Regions from separate parts of the Homo sapiens genome. Here regions 1, 2 and 3 are each linked to region 4. Evidence: promoter capture Hi-C in 16 types of primary human blood cells and fetal thymus (Javierre and others, 2016). All regions are on one chromosome and are shown on one strand. The core of a region is centred on a gene start or on the middle of the fragment in contact, and the rest is flanking DNA. Distances in the headings are between cores, read along the strand shown. Region 1 has its middle 10 kb from the start of CP. Region 2 overlaps CP (ceruloplasmin). Region 3 has its middle 30 kb from the start of CP. Region 4 holds the start of HPS3 (HPS3 biogenesis of lysosomal organelles complex 2 subunit 1).

What was found. The method cuts DNA at HindIII sites, captures the fragments that hold promoters and counts their contacts. A CHiCAGO score of 5 or more calls a contact.
Region 1: a contact is called between a fragment that was not itself captured here and the fragment with the promoter of HPS3 in region 4, in 4 of 17 cell types (total B cells, naive B cells, M1 macrophages and 1 more). The highest score is 6.8, in total B cells.
Region 2: a fragment that was not itself captured here is called in contact with the fragment with the promoter of HPS3 in region 4 in 1 of 17 cell types (total B cells); the score reaches 5.6 in total B cells.
Region 3: a fragment that was not itself captured here is called in contact with the fragment with the promoter of HPS3 in region 4 in 10 of 17 cell types (total B cells, naive B cells, M2 macrophages and 7 more); the score reaches 13.8 in total B cells.

What each region holds. Positions count from the first base shown.
Region 1 is chr3:149,230,550-149,233,389 of GRCh38, forward strand. No RefSeq gene overlaps it. Among named protein-coding and RNA genes, the nearest start is that of CP, 10 kb to the left of the region's middle. The HindIII fragment of the contact is 5,487 bases long and covers 1-2,840 here.
Region 2 is chr3:149,208,180-149,211,198 of GRCh38, forward strand. CP (ceruloplasmin) reads right to left here. Exons shown (of 19, transcript NM_000096.4): 3 at 1,988-2,200; 4 at 1,032-1,205. Among named protein-coding and RNA genes, the nearest start is that of CP, 12 kb to the right of the region's middle. The HindIII fragment of the contact is 1,412 bases long and covers 967-2,378 here.
Region 3 is chr3:149,250,503-149,253,453 of GRCh38, forward strand. It overlaps the pseudogene CPHL1P. Among named protein-coding and RNA genes, the nearest start is that of CP, 30 kb to the left of the region's middle. The HindIII fragment of the contact is 5,460 bases long and covers 1-2,951 here.
Region 4 is chr3:149,128,229-149,131,284 of GRCh38, forward strand. HPS3 (HPS3 biogenesis of lysosomal organelles complex 2 subunit 1) reads left to right here and starts at 1,410. Exons shown (of 17, transcript NM_032383.5): 1 at 1,410-1,712. The coding sequence starts at 1,496. RefSeq lists enhancers at 1,411-1,670, 1,452-1,951. The HindIII fragment of the contact is 10,979 bases long and covers 1-3,056 here.

The DNA.
Region 1 (2,840 bases), core at 34-2,533, 100 kb after region 4:
ATCATGAAAAGTTATCTGAGTTTTACAAAGAAAATAAAACTAGAGTATCTCAGTCATCTCAAAATAGTAATCTTTGAATGAATGAATGGCACATCACATTATATGAATGTTCAATGCATTAAATATCCTTACATAAACACTGCATTTGTTTAAATATCACTTCTAATTAATTTAGCCAATGGATCTTACCTTTTCTTTCAAGTACAGTGTAAGTGCTTTCCATTCCAGCACCAATGTGCTCAAAAACATGGCAATAAAATAACCAGGTTCCAACATCTCTTCGATACATTTTTACAGTTCGATAGACCCCAGGAGGAAGGTCATAAACATCAGATTGATACACTCCCTAATTCTTAACAAGGAGATTAAACATCATTACATCGCTTATAAAAGATATCACTTACCACTTGCTATAATTCCCAAATTCTAATATACCTAATTAGGTGACAATTAGAAAGCATTAGGTGCTGGGCTGGGCACGGTGGCTTATGTCTGTAATCTGCTACTTGGGAGGCTGGGGTGGCAGGGGAGGATGACTTGAGCTCAGGAGTTCAAGACCAGCCTGAGCTCCTCATCTCTAAAAAAAAATATATTTTAAAAATTAGCCAGGCAGTAGTGTGTGCCAGTAGTCCCAGCTACCTGGGAGGCTGAGGTGGAAGGATTGCTTGAGCCCAGTTCAAGGCTGCAGTAAACTGTGATCATGCCACTGCACTCCAGTATTCCAGCCTGGGTGACAGAGCAAGATCCCATCTGAAAAGGGAAAGGAAAGGGAAGGGGAGGGGAAGGGAGTGGATGGCAAGAGAAAGGAGGGGAGGGGAGGGGAGGGGAGAGGAGGGAGAAGAAAAGGGAAGGGAAGAGGGAAAGGAAAGGAAATCATTAAGCTATTAAAGCTATTTTGTTCTCTTCTCTGAGTGCACTTGAGGCTTTGGAGGAGAACTAAGACCCAGGACATTCTGGTGTTAGATAGAATGCAAAGAAAATGTTTCACTCTACAAGGGTACCTGTAGTTTCGTATTGGTGTTAGAAACTTGCCAATGTCTCACACGACCGAGCGCTCTAGATTTCAGAGAACTTCTAGTCTCAAATCCCAAAGGTTCTAAGTGACATATTTCTAACTTGGGATGTTACGTTGATGTGACATAACATGTTGATGTGAAGGATTGTCATTTCTTGAGATACAGCTAATCAGAAAAACTCATTGTTACAGGAAAGAGAAGGGGAGAGGGAGGAGAAGGGAGGAGGAGCTCCCTTGGCATCTGCAGCCAAGTTTGCCTTCTGGAGATTGGGCCTGAGGGCTGAGGGCTGAGGGCACTTTTTAGCTAATTTCTCTCCTAAGCAGAGAACCCAATGTTTAGGAAACTACCTCTGTAGGCTGCTTAGAATTTTAGATATGAAGTCCTAGGGCCTAGTCCGGGTGGATTGGAAGAGACTAAAAGGAAGGTGAATTGCTCTACAAAATAAAATAGGAAGTATTTGCAGGATGGTGGTGGGGGTGGATTGGGGAACTGCAGCTCAAGAGTTCTGAATAATTTCAGGAGAGAAGGGATGTCAGAGAGTCTAGAGAGGAAAAATGTGGAGAAACAAGTCCTGAGGGTGAGAGTAAAAGGCAAACGAGCTAGAGGCTCTCAGTGATGCATGGTGAAAGGGTAATTGGGGGTGGGACATCTAATGTCAAATGGTAAGTGCTTTCTTTTTTTATTATTATTATTATTATACTTTAAGTTTTAGGGTACATGTGCACATTGTTCAGGTTAGTTACATATGTATACATGTGCCTTGCTGGTGCGCTGCACCCACTAACTCGTCATCTAGCATTAGGTATATCTCCCAATGTTATCCCTCCCCCCTCCTCCCACCCCACCACAGTCCCCAGAGTGTGATATTCCCCTTCCTGTGTCCATGTGATCTCATTGTTCAATTCCCACCTATCAGTGAGAATATGCGGTGTTTGGTTTTTTGTTCTTGCGATAGTTTACTGAGAATGATGCTTTCCAATTTCATCCATGTCCCTACAAAGGACATGAACTCATCATTTTTTATGGCTGCATAGTATTCCATGGTGTATATGTGCCACATTTTCTTAATCCAGTCTATCATTGTTGGGCATTTGGGTTGTAAACTAGTTCAACCATTGTGGAAGTCAGTGTGGCGATTCCTCAGGGATCTAGAACTAGAAATACCATTTGACCCAGCCATCCCATTACTGGGTATATACCCAAAGAACTCTAAATCATGCTGCTATAAAGACACATGCACACGTATGTTTATTGAGGCATTATTCACAATAGCAAAGACTTGGAACCAACCCAAATGCCCAACAATGGTAAGTGCTTTCATTATGTAGTACTGAAAAAAAAACTTCGTTTATCCCCACTCTTTCACTAAAAGTCTGTAACTCACAATGGCCTTGATTTTGTGGTTGCTTAAGAGTACCAAAGGAAATGGGATGTGCTCCATGTTTGGAATTGCACACAGTTATGAAAAAACACCAGCTATAGGAGTTGAGAGGCAAGGGAGATGAGCAGAAGCAGGAAGTTAGAGTTGGGGTGAATAGAAGACATTTAAGCTCTCAAGACTCCCTGCAGATATCGGAAGGCAGACAGGAGGAAGACTGAGCTGTTTCTTACTAGAGACAGAGTTGGAGCTCAAGCCATTGTTATTTAGGAACATTAATTTTACAACTAAAGTGAAAATAATACAGATGACATAGGATACAGTTTTTGGACGTCAGAAAAACGTAGAGAACAGCATGAAAAAAATTTAACCACAAATTGACGATGTCCAAAGCACCAGTAAATGTGGAAAATATACCTAGAGCCCTGGCACCCAGGAAGACTGTA
Region 2 (3,019 bases), core at 423-2,922, 80 kb after region 4:
AGCCACAAAGACCTAAAAGTTCATAGGCAAGGTGGCCTGAAACCCTCAGAAGAAACTTATGGTCACTGTTCAAACTGGGTGGCCCTAAAAATTTCCCAAGTGGAAATTAGTTCTGGGAAGAATCCTGAGTGCACCACATGTAACACTGGTACCAAATCAAACCTGCTCAGGCTAGAATTTTGAGTATCTTTTTATAACAACTATTTTTGTTAGTACACAACAGAGACAGGATTAAAGTATGGAAAGAGGACCTTCCACCCAGATATAAGTAAAAGTTGGAAACAAAATCTGTACTTTGTTAACTAGTTTATTTTTCTACTTTGGTAGTATCGTTATTTTTGTGCTCTCGGTTTCTGAGTACAGGTTATTTTGAAGAAGTTAAACACAAACAAATAAACGAAAATATCTACTTATTGGTCTAGTTGTTGTTAAGGGACTCTGTTTCTCATGCAAATTATGAGAAATAGATAATCTTACTAAGCTCATTATTTTGTGTCTGAGAATTAAGAAAAAGTCTAAACTGTAAAAAAAGCATTTCTAGAAAAGTAAAGTGAACTGAAATGTAGAAACGAATGATGCAGACTAAGGGGCCCAGTGAGGGCAACATAGTATGTAAAACGAATACCTTTCAGAACTCGTGGTTTGAACTATTTTCTTAAATATAGTTAGATGCTTTAAAATATAATATGGTTTTAAGCATTTAGTTTAATAATTTGGAGCTGCCTCAAATAATTTTTAGAATGAGTCTAGTGGATAAATAAATATATTAATGTCACATACATATGCATTAAACCATAATTGATGCTTTATCCTTACCAGTTGGGGAACAAGTTTGGTGTATCTGGCTTTACCTGGCTTAGAGTTTTTATTCTGACTTACTTAGCTGAATATCAAATTGCACATCCAATATGCTTTGTTATAAGGACCACAGACTAGACACACAGTACTTATTTATGTGAGGGAATAAGCTTAGCAGAATTAATGGATCAAGGGAAAAAAAAGTAAAGTTAACATGTCTGCTGTAATCTTACAATACATTCTGTTACTCTCCTGGAAGTCTTCGTTGTCTTTGTCAACTTTCTCTGGTTCTGAGCAGTAGGTTTTAATGTTGTCTTCTAGGTACCAGCTGAAATTTTCATCCACCACAGAAAACATCACCACAAATTCTCGGTCAATATGTTTTTCTTTTTCTTTATCTAGAGAATCTGGAGTTAAAGTTACTATTTTAGCAAGACTAAACTTTTAGCATGTATTTTGATTTATGTTTTCAGGTGATTTATAGTTTTTAAAAATGTTAGTATTTATTTTTTCGAATAAATCACAAGTCTGGACCAGTCACTCCTGTTTTACAGACAGAAACACTCAGGGAATTTTTATGATCAGTATCTGGTGCTTGGAAGACACTCCTGTGTCTGGATGTCCACTGACCACATAACTATTAAATGCTTTTTGGCAAATGGGAAGATTGGAATTCAAAGTTGTGCGTCTATTTTCTGGTGCATATAGCCACAAACAGAGACAAGTCTTTACAGGTAACGATTGTTCAAGTTAGAATTGTATTTCAGGCTCTTGAGCTCCGTTGTCTTTTTCATGATGTTAGAAATAAATACTATGATATTATGTTTACCAATATAGTATGAGTAACTACAGATCTATCACCGTGGAGTGCCCTTTTGGTAGTCACATTTGGTAAAGTCATATGTCTCTTCAGCACCACTGTTGGAAGTTAGATACAGCAAACTGAACCCTGAGAGAATATATTTCTTTCACATTACCTTCATTGGCATTTTCCCCGTAGGAATGCTTGTTCTATTTATCCCTTCTTCTCCTAGTCCTGCCTGGCTCTTCCCTTCCTTTTTTTCTACTTACCACCTCTCTACCTTACCTGCTCAATCTCAGCACAGAAGACTTGATTTCTTTTTAAAAGACAAACTGCCCTGCCCCTGTCTTTTGGTCATATAGCATGTGCAATAAGGAGAAGATGTACCTTTTTTACAGATTATTAAAGGTCCGATGAGTCCTGAGGCAATATCTTTTGGAGCATCAATGTGGGAATGGTAAATCCTAGTCACACAATTGCCATCTCCTTCCCCAGGACTTTGTTCTTCAGTGGCAAGCAACATGTATGTATACTGCTCTCCTGGATATACTTTGTCATCTGCTCTTTGAAAATCTGTGGTGTTATCAGGGTAGATGGCCCCTAGGAAGCAACATGCAATGAAGGTGCAAAGTGAATGTGTTTGAACTTAAATGAGAGAATAGATAGTCCATTAATTCATTCAGCAAACATTTATTAAACATCTACTATGTGATCCTTGGGGATGTGTTATCCTATTTGGACACAGGAAAATGAAAGGCTAATGGCTAGGGTGTGTAGAAGCTTCACAGACATTTTTATTATTTTTTTATATTTGATTGGGTTTTCAGAGAGCATAATGACTTTTTGTTTGCAATGTAAAGAACTCGGGTCATGGTATGGGAGTCTGAGCAAAAAGGCTACCCTCTTCTAAATTCAAAACTTCTTATATGATCTCAGATTTTTGCCCACGAAGTAACCATAAAATTAAAAACATTTCTACTCTCAATTTTGGAAATTTCCAAACACACACAAAGGTTGAGAGAAGAAAATGCTGAACCTCTGTGTACCCATCAAACCAGCTTTAACAATGATCGACTCAAGGCCAACCTTGTTTCATCTGTACCCCCACACACTCTTATCCCCAGTATCATCAAATTATTTTAAAGCACGTCTCAGACATCATATTCCATTCATAAATACTTGAGTATGTATCTCTAAAAGATAGGAACCCTTTTTTTCTTCTAACAAAACCACAGTTCCATTACCATACCTTTAAAATGAATGGTAATTCCCTAGTAAGCCATGAAATCATTAAAAAGAAATAGGATGGCAGTCAGCCTTTTATGCTATGAATGTAATTTATCCCTAAACAACAACAAAAACAAAAAAAGTCAACACATTCACTTTCTAAACCAATATCTCTTTTAATAAGACAACTAA
Region 3 (2,951 bases), core at 330-2,829, 120 kb after region 4:
TAAGGAGGACTGAGGATTCTGGGTGTGTGTTGGGAAGGGCTCAAGAGAGCAGTGAGCAATATCATAGGGTAAGCAGGGTAGGCCTCGATGAGAGGGTGATACCTGGGCAAAAATTTATAAGAGATGATATGGGTCTGGAGGAAAAGTGTGTTCTCTCTAGGCAGAATAAACAGGTGGCAAAGGCCCCAGGCCAGGAGCCTGTTTGGTGTGTGTGAAGAGCACCCAAGAGGCCTGTGTGTCTGGAGGGAGGGAGCAAGGGTGAAAGTACTAGGGAGCAGAGGGCTAGGTGATGGAGCCCTTGTGGGCCACTGAATACATGATAGCATTCACTAAGTGAAATGGAGAGCCACTGTGGGATTTTAAGTCAATGAAGGGTATAAGGACACTCTAGCAGCTGTGCTGAGAATAGGCTGGCGTGTACAATGGTGAAAGAAACGGGATCTGTTGAGAGGCTATTAAAAATAATCGATGAGAGATGATGGCTTTGATCAGAGTGGTAGGTAGCAGAGGAGGGAGTGAAAAAAAGTTCAATACATTAAAAATACATTAAAAATCCAAAACAATGACAAAAACAAAAACAAACCACCATAACAAAAAAACTCTAGCCTGATTCTGACCAGAACATTCCACCTGAATTCCAGTTTTCTTTCTTTTACCTTGGTAATTTTAGGCCCACCACGTGCTGACACTGCTTCTTGACGAAAGCTCTCTTTCAACTCTACGTATTTCTGTTGTTGCTGTGACTTTTGTGGAGGGTAAGGTTTAGGAAGATGTACAAGGAAGCAAAACCTTCAGACTCAGAGGGTTTGAGAAAAAGAATTTGTTGAAAATGACATAATCCCTGTATAAGCTCTAGCACCGTGTTTAACACATAGTGTACCTGTCTCCACTTGTTTGCTACAGTTGATATGCTTTGGAAAAGAGAATGAGACAAGGTAGTTTTTAAATCCAGAAAAACACCTGCAGGGGAAAGGAGAGGAAGGACTGGGGCAGGAAAAAGAAATAACTTGTCCCTGAATGAGCATGCAGGTACATCCTCTAAAAAAGAGGAGGAAAAAAAAAAGCACCAGAGAAAGATCTCTCTCTCTTTTTTTTTTTTTTTTTTTTTTTTTGTGTGTGAGACCGAGTCTTGCTCTGTCGCCCAGGCTGGAGTGCAGTGGCACGATCTCGGCTCACTGCAAGCTCCGCCTCCTGAGTTCATGCCATTCTCCAGCCTCAGCCTCCCGACTAGCTGGGACTACAGGCGCCTGCCACCATGCCCAGCTAATTTTTTTGTATTTTTAGTAGACACAAGGTTTCACCATGTTAGCCAGGATGGTCTCAATCTCCTGACTTCATGATCCGCCCGTCTCAGCCTCCCAAAGTGCTGGGATTACAGGTGTGAGCCACCGCGCTGGGCCAAAGATCGCTTTCTTTTCCCCTCCAATTACTCTGAATCACAACTTTTGTTTGTTTGAAAAGTAAAATTTTAAATTTTGAAATGAAGAAAATGTAGTCAAATGAATATTTGGCATCACAAAGAGTCAAGATACCAATTCATAGTATTTACAGAGTAGTTTGTTTATCATATAGCCAGATTTTGGTTGATATCAGTCATTTTTGACCAAGATAGATGTATTTTGGGGCGGGGGGGCAGGTATATGGGACAAGGGTGGATCTACTGGATTAAAGAAGGAACTAGCATTTATTGAAAGTCTAACATATGCCAGGCAGTTTACTATACTTTACCTATCTCATTGATCACTGTCTATTCCTTTTTGCAAATTACAAGTTTTTACAATTCCTATTTTACAAATGAGGAAACGAGGTTCAGAAGGAAGGCTGGTTTCCTTTGATCCCCACACAGTTCTTTGATATGGGGTGCCTTCTTTAAAAAAAAAAAATGTTGCCAGCAAGGATCAACCTCACTGAAGCTAAAACATTTATCCAGAGAGCAAAGCTAGTAAGGAGGATAGAAAGAGGAAGTCACAAGGCAGTAGGGTAAGGTCGAAGCAGCAGGAAGGCCTGGGAAACAAATGGACAGAAGAGTAAGAAATGCAGAAGACAACAGAATGAAAATGAGTTTAAAGGGTTTAAAACATCTTCATCATTTTTGAAGAGCATTGGGATGGTTTAAAGCCTGAAGGACTAGGAAGAGGACCTGAAAAAACTGAGGTGATTTATGTGTATAGGAAAATGAAATACTAAGGCTCTTATAAATGAAGTGGAGCAGGGCAAAGATTTCTCAAGCATTGTTTGTATCAGTTCAATTTTTTTTTCCTGTACAGAATATTCAGTGCGTATAAAGATAGTGCTTCTGCATACTTTAATGTTTCAGGCTGAATGAGAAGACCCACTGCTCACCTATAGAATCAGGTGTCATCAAAAGCGTCTGAGAAGTATAAGGAAACATAGGTATTGTGTCCCTTCTTGCTCCTAAAGAAGTGAAGGTATTTCCTGAAAAATATATCCCGTGTAAATCTTCCACTGATCCTACACTAAAAACGTGCCACAAAACGTTGTCTCCTAAGCACGTGTCCAATCCAGGCAGATTTCCATACATGTATCCATTTATGGCTGCAAGGTATTTGTAACAAAGGAAAGAGTATTTAATTCACTGGTACTTGATATCTTTTGAAACCCAACAAAGCATTAATCATGAAGCAGCTCATTCACGTAAAAAAAAGCAATTTTTTCAACTTTCCTTTCCTCTATTGTTATTTAATCACTTCATGGGGGCTAAAAATGACATTATAGAATTAGAGAATGACAGAATTCCATGATACCCTCATTGGGTTATTCCAGTCAAGCTCTTCCTTTTAGAGTTGAGGAAACTAAGGCCAGAGAAATAGTTTCTTGTCCAATGTCATACGGCTAACAAATGACAATGTTAAGACCAAAGTCCAAGTCTCCAGATTCTGGATCAACCCTTTTCCCAATGCACTGTACAGTCTTCAAAAACCAACAACCAA
Region 4 (3,056 bases), core at 160-2,659:
TTGGGTAGCATGTCTCTTCCCAAAGAATCTTAGATGAGTCAGGTGCAGTGACTACAGCAAGGAAGAAGACACTATCTCTAGGAAGGAATGGGGTTCCAGGTTTTGAGCAAATCTCACTTCTTTCTCCAAAACAGACATTCTTTTTATGCAGGTGAAATTACACTAAAGTTAATATCAGTCTTCATTAGGAGAAAATTGAATTAGGATAATTAAGTCTTGAAGAAGAAAATTAAGCCAAAAAGAATAATATGGCAGATACTTGTGGAAAGGAATCTTTTTTACTATTGATTTTGATATTTGCTCTTAAGTTTTGTATCTAGAACAAATAACTTGTGGACTATTAGTCTGGTTGTTTTCCATAGGAGCCTTCTGTGATTTTTTGCAGCCCTAGTTCCTGACCTGAGCTACCTCCATGTTTACTTCTCTAACTCACTGAGTTTGACGAACCTGTTGTTTCCCATTACTTAGAGGTACTTTATTCATCTGAAGGGCCTAGGAAAGGGAGGCAAGTTTAACTTCAATCCAATTGCATCTAATTTACAAATTCTGAACTGGAAACTGACTGAAGAAAATGTTGCACTTTCATTTATGTCCCTGTGTGCCTAAATAAAACAGCATCCCTCAATCCATGCTAACACATATATTTTCTAGGTGAACTGGACAAAGTTATACTACTTGTTTTATCTAAATCTGATTTTTTTAGAAAAGGGAAAGTGTTGCGATCGTGAACTCCACGTTGAGATGTCAGGAATAGATAATTTACTGCATAGTTTTAGGAGCACTGGACTGAAAGCCAGGGGATTTCCCTCCTAGTTCTTCTATCCTCTGGGGCTCAAACTAGTCTTTTGTCAAATGCCTACAAGATGAAGTCCATGGATTCTTTCTTTCAACAAATATCTTTTTGCCAAGCACGTTCAAGGCTTTGCTCTTTCCAGCTGAACTATTCTAGAATTTCCATTATTTTAAAGCAACTCTTCAGAGTGTTTAGCCCCGAGTTGCACCCCATTTCAGTTTTTGCAACCCCATCCTCCAGAAGCTCAGGGACTACTGAAGAGACATGAATAACGCTCCTCAAAGTAAGTACAAAATGTTACAAGATAGATGATGAATTGTCAGAACGTACTCAAAAGCCAAAACATACCGCCTGGCCCAAAGCAGTAAAAGACGAAAGGCAGGGACCCAGCGGTCCCCGCACCCACCGGCCACTGAGCATAGAGCAGTGGCAAGCTCGCGCGGCGGAGTGGGAGGCGCAGAGACCGAAAGCACTGCAGCGCCAGAGCGCGGGCTGACCAGGCTGGCGTGACCGCTTTCCCGACGCCTGCCACGCCCCGCGGCGGCCTCTTTAAGTAGCGGAGCCGCGGGCGGGGCCGGCTGGCGTTCACGTGACCCGGCGTCATTGGCTCGCTCGCGGAAGTAGTCCTACATTCGCGGTCAGCGCGGGGTCTCCGGGCGCCCTGCAGGGCGGGCAGGCTGTGCCATCCCGCCGGACGTCGGGATGGTGCAGCTGTACAACCTGCACCCGTTCGGGTCGCAGCAGGTGGTGCCCTGCAAGCTGGAGCCGGACCGGTTCTGTGGCGGGGGGCGTGACGCGCTTTTCGTGGCGGCGGGCTGCAAGGTGGAGGCGTTCGCGGTGGCCGGCCAGGAGCTGTGCCAGCCGCGGTGCGCCTTCTCCACGCTGGGCCGGGTGTTGCGCCTGGCCTACAGCGAGGCTGGTGAGTAATCTAGAGAGCCAGGGGCCGCCTGGGGTCCAGCTTGAGGCCTCCTAGCTAGCGGACCGAACGTCTGGGCTGTAGCTCTAGCTAGGGATGGGACTTCTTGCTTCCCGGAATTTGCCGGATGGTCTCCCTGGGTCTGGCCGCTGATTGCTTGAAGTCGCATTGAGCTATGCGGTTGTCGCGGCAAGCATAGGTATGAGCTTGCTTCTGTCGGGGCGGAGACGCTGACATCTCTTCGTCTTGGTTTTCTGCAGAAAGGCCTCTGGCTGGATTCCACTCATCTCGGATACTTAAGCAAACAACAACAAAAAACTCTTTAGTGCATCAGATTTCAAAGACTTACCAAAAAAACAAGTAGGAATAAGGAGACTAGTACTGTATCCCGGAACCTCCAAGTACTCCCAGCTTTAACAATTATTCCAACTCTTGGCAGTTCTTTCACATCTGTACCTCCATCTACTTCCGGTCGGTTTTTGAAAGCTCACATTATGTGTTGATTTTTAAATGTGTGTAAGTAGAACTCAGACTGCCCCCCTCTCTTCTCTTAAACATCTGTGGCCGGGCGCAGTGGCTCACGCCTGTAATCCCAACACTTTGGGAGGCTGAGGCAGGCGGATCACGATGTTAGGAGTTCGAGACCAGCCTGGTCAATTTATTGAAACCCCGTCTGTACTAAAAATACAAAAATTAGCCGGACGTGGTGGTGGGCGCCTGTAGTCTCAGCTACTTGGGAGGCTGAGGCAGGAGAATCGCTTGAACCGGGGAGGCGGAGATTGCCCCATTGCACTCCAGTTTAGGCGACAGAGTGAGACTCCGTCCCAAAACAAACAAAAACAAACAGTTGTAAGAGCAGCCGTTACTCTTTCACACCAGAAATGTGAAGCAATACCAAGGAAATACTGTGTGGGTGAATCCTATTTTAGAAAAATCCAACATTTAAAACTAGATCCCTTTTAGATTACAGAAGAATTTACCATATAATTCCTTTAATACACTTACCTTCGATTCATACTTTACAAGATGGGTGTAAAGTTCAGTATTTACGTTGCAAAAGCTGGTGGCTATGCTATTAATGAAGTGGAGAACTTGAACCTGGAAGATTGGAGATCTCTCTCTAATCCCTACCCCGCAGCTGGTTCGGTGTGAGTTTATAGAAACCTTGGGGTCTGAGTTTATGTTAAAAAAAAAAAAAAAAAACAAAAAGTTGAATAAATAGATCAGTGATATCCAGACCCTGGGATTTCGTGGCTCAATTAAAAACTGTGGGGTTACCATACATAGTATCTGACTGCTTATTTTGTCAAGTAAAGACATATACAGGCATACCTTGTTTTTTTTGCA